Linked DNA regions of Homo sapiens: all the other regions are linked to region 1. The links are contacts of gene promoters, found by promoter capture Hi-C in blood cells and fetal thymus (Javierre and others, 2016). All regions are on one chromosome and are shown on one strand. The core of a region is centred on a gene start or on the middle of the fragment in contact, and the rest is flanking DNA. Distances in the headings are between cores, read along the strand shown. Region 1 holds the start of CAGE1 (cancer antigen 1). Region 2 overlaps EEF1E1-BLOC1S5 (EEF1E1-BLOC1S5 readthrough (NMD candidate)). Region 3 overlaps LOC101928004 (a long non-coding RNA gene).

Region 1 (4,212 bases), core at 1,189-3,688:
ATTTGTCAAGTTATTAGAAAAATTAAAAATTTTAGTCTGAGTATACCGTAATTTGGTATGGTAGTAAATACTGATTTGGAGAAAAACAAACAGTATTGGCTACTATCCAATAACTCCCTAGAAGGCTTTGGACCTAGAAGTGAAGGGATCTCTGTGTTATTTAATCAAGGATATTTACAAAATATTATCAGAGACCTAATAGTTTCCACAAAATCCTGGATTTTTATTTACTTGATACCTTCCACTTGAACACCTCACTACCAAGTCAAACCCAGCATTGTAACTGTTTTCCCTCCTCACTTTCCTATACTGCGCCTATTCCCTCAGGTACATGTGTTTGAAAACTGGACTTGTCTTGGCATCCCTCTACCTCATCATGCATGGCTATTCAGATACCAAGTCCCGTCCATGTCTCCTTTAAAAATGTCTTTCAGGGCCGAGCGCGGTGGCTCACGCCTGTAATCCCAGCACTTTGGGAGGCCGACGCGGGCGGATCACGAGGTCAGGAGATCGAGATCATCCTGGCTAACACGGTGAAACCCCATCTCTACTAAAAATACAAAAAAAAAAAAAAAAAAAAATTAGCTGGGCGCGGTGGCGTGTGCCTGTAGTCCCAGCTACTCTGGAGGCTGAGGGAGGAGAATGGCGTGAACCCCGGAGGCAGAGCTTGCAGTGAGCCGAGATGGCCCACTGCACTCCAGCCTGGGTGACAGAGCAAGACTCCATCTCAAAAAAAAAAAAAAAAAAAAAAAGTCTTTCAGTAACCTGTGCTTTCTTTCCATCCCATGTTGCCACACTGGTCCATATTCTCCTGACTTCCTCAGGCCTGTCCAGAGCTCCAGAGCTGAGAGTGGAAAGGATGGCCACTCACATTGATTCTATAAATTTTTGTCCTTCCAGGCCATCCATAGCCTGGAGTGACATCCCCTACCCGGTACTCCCCTGCTCTACTCAGATCAGGCTCATTTCCCTGCAGACAGATAATGTTCCTTACGAATTAAGCTTCAGTCATCTGCCCTGGCACGTGCTTCTCTCCTAAAACCTTCCCATCTACCCATTCATCTATTTTCAAAATTCCTACAATGTCTTCAGTCTCTAAATCTCTATCTTACAATTCAGCACTTGGTGATTTCGTTTACTGTTTTAGAGCTTCACCACTGTTTCAAGGGTGTTAGTGTTTGTGTTTACAGATCATAAATGTCTTGAGAGGAGCATACTTAGGGCTTTCCAATATCCCCTACTGCAAATGGACCAGTGCTGTCTACACAGCAAATATTGATTGAATAAAACCTGCATTCCAATGACTTATTTCTATCAAGCTCTTTCAATTTATAGTCATTACTCATCTGCCTGGATTCTTTTATTGAATTTCTGAATGAATAGTTTATTGAAAATTAGTTGTTTTCAAACCTATGTCATCACTTGGTAAAATATAAAAAAGTAAGCCAAGCAGACCAGTCAGGATCAGTGAAAGGCCCAACTTTATGCTCACTTCTCCCTTGTCTTTCAAATAATGCTGCCTGGATTGTGGTGAGATCTGAAAAATTCTTGCTTTGTTTTCCCAATGCAAAAAAGCGCAAAGGCCTTGTTTCTTAGTTTTCTTGTTTGTGAACCCAGCACTTCCAATTACATTTCTACAACTTTGTTCATCCCTCATGTGGCACTGCACAATCTGCCAGTTTACCTTTTTAATTTAAAGTTAGACTATTTTTTCCATCTTTCATTTGTCCTTACAGGTTTATGTTGGATTTTTAACATATTTATCAAATGTTTGAATAGATGTTCCAGAGACATTCTAAAGCTGTTTTAAGATAGGAGTTAAAAGAGGTGTCACGGGAGTTACTCGCAAAAACTATAGTTTTGTTTAAAAGCTTTTTCAGTTGTAAGACAAACTTTACCTTTTTAAAAAGCACTTATCTCATTCATTTTTCACCTCAAAACGAGACACCAAACTTTTTAAGACACAAAAGTGTGCTCACTTCCAGGATCCATAGTTTCTTGGACCCACGCTACGGACCTGGCTCTCCCTCCCTCTGCACCGGGTTTTGTGGGAGGGAGAACGCTTTCCAACCTCCTCCACCAAGGACTCTCACAAACTCGCAATCGGGCTCCCGGAGTGCTGGAACGCCCCTGTGTGACGTCCGCCCGCGCCGGGGGAACTCCGCAGAGACAGGTGCAGCCCGCGAGGCCCGAGCGACCCTACTGTGGGTGCGGTGTCTTCCCAGAGAGTGGTGAAGTTAGGAAGGTACGACCCCCTAGGCCGAACAGCCTGTGGGCTAGCTGGCGCCTCCTGCCGCAGTAAACACAAAGTGGGGTACAGAAACGAAAACTCCGGGAAGAAACGGCCAGCACGGGCCTCGCCGTGCCGGCTACTCAACACGCCTTCCTGAGAGCACAGAACATCCACAGCCCTATACAGCGCGCCATCCAGAGAGCTCCGGACTCCCAGCTCGGCGCAGGGGCGGGACTTCCGCTCAAGTCAGACTTCCGGGCGAGGCGGTGAGGGGCTTCCGGTTGGGGTGGCAGGGTGGTGGATCTGTCGGTCCCGTTTTCCCGTCGCACGTGGTGGCCACTGTTGGCTTCTGAATGGTTTGCAAGGCGGATATCCACGCCAAGGCCTTTGGATCGGCCGTGGGTACATCCGTCTGAGCCGTTCCTTTCCATCGCAGAGCGGCGGCCTCCGGCGGCGCTCTCCAGTCATGGACTACCGGCGGCTTCTCATGAGCCGGGTGGTCCCCGGGCAATTCGACGACGCGGACTCCTCTGACAGGTAGGCGGCCGTACAGTGCCCTGGCTCTGGGTACGGCTCTCTCCTTGACCGCCCCCTTGGGGTGTGGACTCTTGTTTGCGGTTTAGAGGGAGACTAGTGGTTCATCACTCAGCGTCTCTCTTGACAACCCTTTGCCTGTTTCTGCATCCCAGCTGGGTTTTTCTCCCAGTTCACGCGGCAGAGTTAAGTGAAAGCTACTTGTCAAGGGAGTCTGCGGTTCTCAGGTCGGTTAGCGTCACTGGGAGGCAGAGTTGGGGATAGCGATTAGGAAACATGGGTTTTTGCGTTTTAACCACATTTAGCGTTCAACAAATACTTACTAAGCACTTAATATGTACCACGTTCTGTCCTGGGCGCCGGAGGTAACAAGAAGAACCAACTTCCTGCTGTCATGGAACTTTACCTTCTACGTGAAAGAGAGGGCACACCATTTAAAAACCAAATAATGATGTAGACTATGCAAATCGTTTGATATACCAAGTGGTGACTGAATGGGTAGGGAAAGGTTAAGTCCAGATTTGAATGACAAGGAGCTAATCCTGGCAAGAGCAGAGGGAACAGCATTTCACACAGAAGGGACAGCAAGAGCAAAGGCCCCGAGGCCAGAGTGCCTAGAGCACAGTGGAGGTAGTTGAGAAGATTGGTAGGGTGATAGAGAAGTAAGAAGGGGGGCCAGATCATGGAGACCTTTACAAGTGATGGTGAAAAGTTCAGATATTAATGTGGGTCTTATGGAAAGCCATAGGAGGGATTTTAGCAGAAGAATGACATTATTTGCTTGGTGATTTAAAGGAATCATTCTTTCTAGGTAGATGATGTTCATGGAGGGTGGGAGTGGAACAGAGAGACCAGTTCAAAAATAATAAGGTAATCAGATTCAAAGATGGTGGGGACTAGAGCCCAGATCCTAAAGATATGTCTTGGAGGTAGAAGTGGCAGCGTTTGGTGGTAGACTGGACGTGGAGTCTGGGGAAAGAGGGATGAAGGATAACTCCTGCCTAAAAGCAAAATGAAACATATTGGAGTTATTTTGGAATTCCAAGAAAACAGCTTGTACTTTATGTTTACAGTAAGGATTCATCACATGCGGATTTTGTTAATTATTGGGGATGTTTTCAATAAATATATGTATGTTGAATGCTTTCTGTGAGTCAGATCTAGTCTTAGGTGGTAGGGAGGCATTGGTAAATACCATCCTGAATGACACAGAGCTTGCACCCTAGCAGGGGAAACCGATATTATTAAATAATTAGACTATTTGTATTCGAATTGGGTAAGTAGTACAAAGGAGAAGTGGGGGAAAAATAGGGAAGACTTCCTTGAGCAAGTGATAGTGAGCTGATACTTGATGGATGAGTAGGGGTTAGCCAGAGAAAGAGGAAGGGCATTCCAGTTTTATGGTTACGGAGAAGTGTACAAAAAGCTTTAGAGAAGAAAAGCAG
Region 2 (4,212 bases), core at 1,186-3,685, 680 kb after region 1:
AATACTGCTCTCTGGGGTAAAAAGCTAAATGCTCTAATCCATTAAACTACCACAGCCCTGCCAAAGCTAGATTCATATTAAAGTTCATGCAACATCTGACTTTTTAAAAAGGAATTAAGTCAAATGTTAGAAAAAAATATAAATGAAAAAGCTGTAGTTCACAATAATTCTAATTTGACCACTTGTCAAATAGTGTATTTTATCTTTGGGTGTGATGTACATGTACCTGATTATAATAGAGCTCTATTCCGTCGTAACAATATAACCGCTTAAATTTTTATCAACATATCTTGAAGCTATTCTGGGCAGACTTGCTATTCTGAATGGAATTTCAGCAGGGCTCTCATGAATTACATTTTTTTTTTTTTGAGTCGGAGTTTTGCTCTTGTTCCCCAGGCTGGAGTGCAGTGGTGCGATCTCGGCTCACTGCAACCTCTGCCTCCTGGGTTCAAGCGATTCTCCTGCCTCAGCCTCCCGAATAGCTGGGATTACACACATGCACCACCACACCTGGCTAATTTTGTATTTTTGCTAGAGACAAGGTTTCTTCACGTTGATCAGGCTGGTTGTGAACTCCCGACCTCAGGTGCTCTGCCCACTTTGGCTTCCTGAAGTGCTGGGATTACAGGCGTGAGCCACCGCGCCTGGCCACGAATTACATTTTTAAGGGGGCACTGACAGTATGATGCGCTGGCAGTGGATGATCGTTCACATTCATTCCACTCCTCCCTTCCTGCCTTCTTCATCCCTGTGGGAGATCTAATGTGCCTATTACTGACTGTGGTTAACCGTGGGCTCAGGTATAATTGGGTGGGGTAAGTGGGAGTTTACCAGTACTGCTAGCAAATAAACTACTACATATCTGGCCATCTTAATTTTAGGTGTAACTGGGAGTAACCATGAGAATTCCTATATATCTGCTAAAAGCCTTAGTGAATAATCTTTTTGCTGAACTGGGGGTGGGAGATGGGGTGTTTAACTGGGAAGTCGGGTCATGGATGGATGATTATGTCATTCTTGGAGCTATGTCACCTTTTCTACCATATTGTGATAGTCATTGCTTGGGAAGAGACTCACAACTGCAGAACTACACAAAATACTTCATGATCTCTTGGATGCTTGGGTATAAGCATGGCTGTGGTTGTTTGACATTGTTCCCATTCTATAATTTCTATTTGTTTTAAAACTCGTTTTTATTCTAATTAATGAAAAAGCTCACAGACGTTTGACTGAAGAGTGATTCTTCCCTACTTGGAATTTTTGGTCTGTTCCTAAAAGTTTCACATGGAATAGGGACATGTGTCTAATCAGGGGAGTTGAATCAAATCCAGTGAACATGGCAACAGATGGTCTTCTAACCCTGAAATCATACAGTTCCCACTTCAGTCATGGTCTAACCAAGGTGGTGGTTAGCATGTGGGTTAGTCTCTGCCTCCTCTCTAGCTCCTAAATTAACATGAGATCATATTAATGTTGTAAAATTCCCATACAGAGCTCAGAACATATTAAATACTCAGTAAATGATATCTAATTATTTACTTTCAAACAATGCTGAGTGGCTGGCAGCCTCCCAAAGAGTGCTCTATATACCGTTTCAGGAATGTGTTCACAGACCATTGGATTGTAAACTTTATGAGGGCAGGGACGTGACTGCGTTATCTGCAGGGCCTAGCAGAGTTCTGTTACACAGTATGACCTAAATAATATTTAGATTATCATTGACTGGTCAGTGCTGTAGGCTTCTCGGAATTACAGAAAGAAAATCCTTGGAAAGGGGCTTTCACTTTTCAGAAGGAAGAGCATTCACAAAGATAGCTGCACTCTCTTCTAGACAGGTCGCATCAATCTTTGTTTTTTTTTTTTTTTTTTTTTTTGAGACGGAGTCTCGCTCTGTCGCCCAGGCTGGAGTGCAGTGGGGGGATCTCAGCTGACTGCAAGCTCCGCCTCCCGGGTTCACACCATTCTCCTGCCTCAGCCTCCTGAGTAGCTGGGACTACAGGCACCTGCCACCACACCCGGCTAATATTTTTGTATTTTTAGTAGAGACGGGGTTTCACCGTGTAAGCCAGGATGGTCTCAATCTCCTGACCTCGTGATCTGCCCGCCTCGGCCTCCCAAAGTGCTGGGATTACAGGCGTGAGCCACCGTGCCCAGCTAATCAATCTTTGTTTTTAAGAGACAGGGTCTCACTCTGTTGCCCAGGCTGGGATCCAGTGACACAATCATAGCTCACTGTAATCTCAAATCCTGGGCTCAAGTGATCCTCTTGCTTCAGCCTCCCAAAGCACTGGGATTACAGGTGTGAGCCACCACACCTGGCTCATTGATCTATTAGAAACAAAATAAGAAAGACAGCATGGTCCTTTTTTCCAACAGCTTGAAAAGTGTGAGAACCAGAGACTTTTTTTTTTTTTTTTTTTTGAGATGGAGTCTTGCACTTTCACCAGGGTTGGAGTACAGTGGCGCGACCTCAGCTCAGTGCAACCTCCGCCTCCTGGGTTCAAGTAATTCTCCTGCCTCAGCCTCCCAAGTAGCTGCAATTACAGGTGCCTGCCACTATGCCCAGCTAATTTTTTGTATTTTTAGTAGAGATGGGGTTTCACCATGTTGGCCAGGCTGGTCTTGAACACCTGACCTTGTGATTCATCTGCCTCATCCTCCCAAAGTGCTGGGATTACAGGCATGAGAGACTTTTAAACTGGTAAGTAATGTAAATTCATGTTTTATCAAAATCCCAGGATGCTCTGCCACCATTTTTATCTCAGGCTCACATGTTGAGCAAGTTGGTACCTCAGGGATGATTGGCAGGTAGGAAAAGTCTTAATAATTTGGCTTTATGATTTTACAATCTTCCATAGCAGTTTGACCTTTACTCATAACTTTCTACATATTAGGCACAGTGCTGAGTAATTTTTATATATTCCCACTGCAAATTAAATGAGATCAGTTGTCTTTACCCCTATTTCATATGAGGAATTCCATGTGCAGTGACTTGAGCAAGGTCTCATAATTAATACATGATGAGGCTGGTGTGCTCGACTCCACTGCTTCCCCACCCCCAAATGATTTAATGCTGTAATTCACATATTACAACATTCACCATTTGAAGTGTACAAGTTAGAAGTTTTCCGTATATTCCCAGAGTGGTGCAACCATCTCATTTATTCTTAAAATTATGTACCCATTTATTTTATCTAATACCTAGGGCAGGTTTTTTCTAGGTTGGTAAAAACTGATTCCACAAGTTAATTAAGCAGAATTTTATGGCACTCCATGTAGAGTAGTTTACAGGTAAGTTTGAGCCAGACATTTGTGTTTGAATCTCAGTTCCTTGATCTCAGTTCCTTGTATGATGTTGGGTTAGTTCCCTACCTCTGTGTGCCTCAGCTTCCTTATCTGCAAAAGGGGATAAAAAAGGAGTTAATTCACTTAAAGCACTTAGAATAGTGCCTGATACACACTAAATGCTCAATAAATGTTATCTATTATTGTTGTTATTAAAAGTTTTAACAGATATTTTAAAAAGTATTAACAGATCTTCATAACTGAATACTACAGAATCGTAAAATTAGCTCTGAATCATGAAAATTAAATTGTCAGTGAAATGTGGTCAGTGGAAATTGTATTATATCCCAATTCTTTGCAAATTGATGATCCATGTGATGTCAGCAATGTATTAACAAAATATCTTATACAATTGATCATTTGGCACTCAGAAGGCATTTTCCCATTTAAGCATTACTCACTGTGACAGAGATAGCTGGTTGCCTATGCAGTATCCCTTTTCCTTCTTTTCTCATTGACAGAGCAGAGCTTTATTCTGGGTGCCCTCCGACTACACATCTGGCCTCCTCCCAGCTGGAGTGGCCAAAATTGTAAATCAATACAGCCAAACAGGGCTTCCAGGAAAGGCCCTTCAGGGGAATTGATAAGGTTGGGAGAGAAGCCTTTTGCTGTCCCCCTCTTGCTGTTTCTTTGGGTCTTAATCAGACTTGATGTCTGGAGTTCTGACGTTAATACTGGACCATACGTTGAACTTAAGAATGGAAACCACTCGTTCAGCATGGAGTAGCAAAAACAGGAGCTGGATGCTTCACACCAAAGGTGGGCTAATTTCCTAACTTCTTTTACATGAGAAAAAAACAACCCACCCTGATGTTACTGGGCCTTTCTGCAATATACAGCTGTACTGATAACATATACGTGTAATTT
Region 3 (4,212 bases), core at 1,017-3,516, 670 kb before region 1:
GATCATTGTCTTGGCCCACCTGGTACCTTAAAGAGATCTGTGTGCTGCTCACAGGATGCACCACCCCTTTCCGAGGCTTGGCCACCTCTGGGAGCTGTGACTGACAATCCAGGACTCGAGTTCCTAGCGACCCCCCTGAATTCCCAACCCGACTCTCCCCTAGCCACGGAAAGCAACCTGTCTTGTCTCTGCTGGGCAGCTAGCTCTCCTTGAAAACCAAACCAAACCAAACCAAAAGCACCAGCCCTCAATGGCCTTGTCCTCTCACCCCCCCATCCTTAGGCACGAGCTAGCGTGATCTCCTGTATGACTTTAAGCTTTCAAAATAAAATCCATGAGGGAAAATCTGCTTAAGTCCTACATCACAAACCTCCTAAGCAAGATGAGGAGCTCGAAGGCTGGGCAGCTTTCTGGGAATGGAGGCATGAAAGACCACAACAGACGAGACAACTTAAGATCTCTGTAAATGATGCTTTTTTCACCAATGGAGACACCAGGGCTCTGCAAGGTCAAATGACCTGCTCAAGATTACGTTCTGTTAAGAGTCAGAGGAGGGACTGAAACCCAGGACCCCTGACTCCACCTAAACATATCATGAGCAGCTCCTATTCCATGCTCCATCCTGAAATCACCAAAGAGCATAGAAAGAATTCTGTCCGCTCCGCTCCACTGTAAGCTGATGGCTTAGGGAGATTCCCAAGGCCCTTCATTTCTAGTCCTAGAAGCTCCTTCCTCAGAGGAAATGCTCTGTTCCCCACAACCATGTTAGGGGCACACTTCTCTGACCCCCTGGAACATAGCTGGACCTTGCTGGAACATTTCAACAAGACCTTGTTAAAGAGGTGATATTGACACATTACTAAACTAGATATTGATTTACAAGAAATGTTTTTCACAACATCTACAAAAATGTTAAAAAAAAAAAAAAAAAGTATTCAGAGAAACCCACAGGAGCTTCAGAGGTTCTGCAGAGAGGTAATTCCAACTGCACTGATTTCCACTGCATGGTTTTGGATGGAGGAGTTCATTGGAAAAGCCAGTTTAGAGGTGGTGTGAAATGTAGGGTGATCTTAACAGATGGAGTGCTTCTCAGCCAGGATAACTAAAGGGCTGATCGAAGTACTCTATCATAAAATTATAAAAGGAGCCCTAAAATTAAAAAGCATCCTGGCCATACTAGTAGGCCCAATTGGAGGACTCTGCAGGAATTGTCACATGGAATGTGGAGTTTATTAGAGCACCAGAAACAGAGCTGAGGCTTGATGTCCCCACAGGAGACGAGAATCACAGGACCTGATGTAACGTCTAGAAAATGCGTTTAGCAAAGGTTTCTGTTGAACTTTAAAAAAGAAATGTTCTACTCTACTCAATAAGCTTACCACATGCTGCACGGCTAATGACAGAACTGGAAGGATCTACCTATAAAAAAAGCATGGCTTAATAAGACATGGGAATATAAAGCACACACACAAACAAAAATCAAGTAATTATAACTCCTTAGAACACTAGGATGCTTGTTGCAAATGACAAAGTTTGAGTTTCACAGACACGAAGTTGAACCAAAAATCCAGACACAAGAGTACACACTCAATGATTCCATGAATATAAAGTTAAAAACCAACAAGACCAGCTGTGAGTAACCAGTATAGCAGTTCTTCAAACAATTAAAAATGGAATCGTCATATAATCCAGCAATTCCACTTCCGGGTACATTCCCAAAAGAATTTAAAGCAGGGCCTCAAAGACATCTTTATACATCCGTGTGCAAAACGGCATTATGTACAATAGCTGAAGGATGGAGGCAACTCAAGCGTCCATCAACAACAGATAGATGAGTAAACAAAATGTGTTGTATCCACACAATGAAATACATTCAGCCTTAAAAAAGAAGGAGATTCTGATATACGCTGCAGCATGGATGAACCTTGTGAACATCAAGCTCAGTGAAACAAGCCAGACACACAAGGATGAATGCTTTATGATTCCACTTGCATGAAGTACATAGAGGAGTACTGTCCATAGAGACAGAAGGTAGAAGAATGGTTGCCAAAGGCTGGGAGCAGGGGAAATGGGGAGTTGTTTAAGGTATATGGAGTTTCAGTTTTGCAAAATAAAGAATTCTGGAGGCAGATGGTGTTGATGGTGGCACAACAATGAATATGTTGAAATGTCACTGAACTGTATATTTAAAAATGGTTAAGATAGTAAATTTTATGTTGTATTTTACCACAATTAGTTTCTTTTAACCAAAGGGAGGAAATACAGGCAAACTAAGCTATGGAAAGGATGAGGGCTGGTCCTGGAGAAGTGGTCAAGGTGTGTACCCGGGAGCTGGTCGTGTTCTATAGTTTAATGGGAGTGCTGGTTATGTAAGCCTTTTGAGTTTTTGAACTTTTATCAACCAAATATTTAGAATTTTGCCAGTTTTCTCTATGAGTGTTGTGGTTTAATTAAAAGTCTTAGTTTATAGGAACAAAAAAATACCTATACAAGAAAGGTCATAAGGATGAAAGAATCTAAATTCTAGAGTGATATACTACACTACTAACTTCTGCTCATATTTTGTCCCATAATAGCTTCTGGAGCTCCCAAGTTTAAAAGCAACTTTTTATTGCCACTTTGGTTAATGGGCAAGAACCACCACCCCAAGAGTCTATTTTTGTTTTTAAGAAACTTTCTCCTAGGAGTCCCTCCCACAAGGCTGCTCAGCACAGTCCAGGCTCAGTCAAGCACTTCGAGTACAAAACAACTTGAGTGCGTGGAGATCTCACTGTGTGAGCTTTGTAGGGATTAGGTAAATCACAGGTGCACCCTTACCTGAACCAGCCAGCAGCTTATTCATTAATCAAGTGCTTAACAAGCTGTTGCTCCAAGTTCCCCTCTCAGCCTGGCAGACTGGTGTCTTTGGACTGATTCCCAGTTTGGGGCCCCCTCAGCTCCCCTTTTCCACTCTGCCAAAACTTCTCCCTGCAGGTCCTGTCCTATTCTCTTCTCTGCTATATTCCCCATGCAGAGTTGGCCTCTTGGGTTTCTCCTATGTTTCTCCAGCTTTCTGACTCCTGCCCAGAGGCTGCTCTTAAGACTCAGGTTGTGATCTGAACCAGTTTCTCCACAAGGAGTCCCAGGTCTGTCCTCTCTGAACCATTGTCTTTCTTTGCAAAGCTTTTCTACTTGGATCCTATATCCCCTTCCCGCACCTGCCCATGGTCCAAATGCGGCACAGAACTCACCAAAACCAGCTCTACATGTCATTCCCATCTGCTCAAGCCTTAATACTGACTTCTTCCAATAGAATAAGCCCTGCATCCAAACAATCTAATGCTCACATTTTCATTTTACCAGGGAGGAAACAGGCTTGGAGAAGTAACTTGCCTGTGAGCCTATAAAAGTGGCAAAGCTGGCCGGGTGTGGTGGCTCACGCTTGTAATCTCAGTACTTTGAGAGGCCAGGGTGGGAGGATTGCTTGAGCCCGGGAGTTGGAGACCAGTTTGGGCAACAAAATGAGACTTCACTACAAATAATTTTTTGAAAATTAGCTGGGTGTGGCAATGCACCTATGGTCCCAGCTACACGGGAGGCTGAGGTGGGAGAATCACTTCAGCTCAGGCAGTCCAGGCAATATTGAGCTGTGATCACGCCACTGCACTCCAGCCTGGGTGACAGAGCAACACCCGATCTCAAAAAAAAAAAAAAAAAAAAAAAAAAAAAAAGAGGTGGGGGGCAAAGCCACAATGCAAGGGTTACCTGAATTTGGTGGGCTGCCTATTGCACGGGGTAGGGTATATTCAGAGCCTCGTCTACTTTCTGCTGAGCTGAAGTCCTACTGTTGGGTACCATTTTCCCCAGGACCCCACGGCATTCAGATCTTGCCGGCTTCCTCCAGCCACTGCTAGAAGAACATTAGCAGCGAATCATGGAATGTCAGGGATTCAAAGTAGAGGCCCTCTGGTTACATCCTTTTGTTTTAAACATCACATATAAGCCCAGGGCCCTCTGTTTACTTTTGATTTTACCCAAATAGAACCAACTAGGGAGCAGATGTGTGCAGCTCAGCAGGAATCCAGCTTTGGGGAAATACTGAGGTCTCCAGACTTGGGACTGGCTTTGTGTGAAATGCTTGGTTAGGGGAAAGGGGCTCCCTGCTGAACAAGACTGGAAAAACATCTCCCAAAGGCACCTTGTGGCATCTGTAAGCTGTGGGTTGCAGGGGTG

What was found. Contacts are between HindIII fragments. The CHiCAGO score rates a contact against its expected background, and 5 or more counts as called.
Region 2: a contact is called between a fragment that was not itself captured here and the fragment with the promoter of CAGE1 in region 1, in 4 of 17 cell types (activated CD4 T cells, naive CD8 T cells, non-activated CD4 T cells and 1 more). The highest score is 7.0, in activated CD4 T cells.
Region 3: a fragment that was not itself captured here is called in contact with the fragment with the promoter of CAGE1 in region 1 in 4 of 17 cell types (fetal thymus, naive CD4 T cells, non-activated CD4 T cells and 1 more); the score reaches 8.0 in fetal thymus.

What each region holds. Positions count from the first base shown.
Region 1 is chr6:7,387,304-7,391,515 of GRCh38, forward strand. CAGE1 (cancer antigen 1) reads right to left here and starts at 2,439. Exons shown (of 14, transcript NM_001170692.2): 1 at 1,899-2,439. It overlaps RIOK1 (RIO kinase 1), which reads left to right and starts at 2,505. Exons shown (of 17, transcript NM_031480.3): 1 at 2,505-2,770. The coding sequence starts at 2,700. RefSeq lists enhancers at 2,118-2,177, 2,188-2,237, 2,368-2,787, 2,391-3,177. The HindIII fragment of the contact is 2,322 bases long and covers 1,870-4,191 here.
Region 2 is chr6:8,070,115-8,074,326 of GRCh38, forward strand. All of the region lies in intron 3 of EEF1E1-BLOC1S5 (EEF1E1-BLOC1S5 readthrough (NMD candidate)), which reads right to left. It also overlaps a transcript of EEF1E1 not described here. Among named protein-coding and RNA genes, the nearest start is that of BLOC1S5-TXNDC5, 7.8 kb to the left of the region's middle. The HindIII fragment of the contact is 6,631 bases long and covers 1-4,212 here.
Region 3 is chr6:6,718,982-6,723,193 of GRCh38, forward strand. All of the region lies in intron 2 of LOC101928004 (a long non-coding RNA gene), which reads right to left. All of the region lies in intron 4 of LOC101928047 (a long non-coding RNA gene), which reads left to right. Among named protein-coding and RNA genes, the nearest start is that of LY86-AS1, 98 kb to the left of the region's middle. The HindIII fragment of the contact is 1,788 bases long and covers 1,373-3,160 here.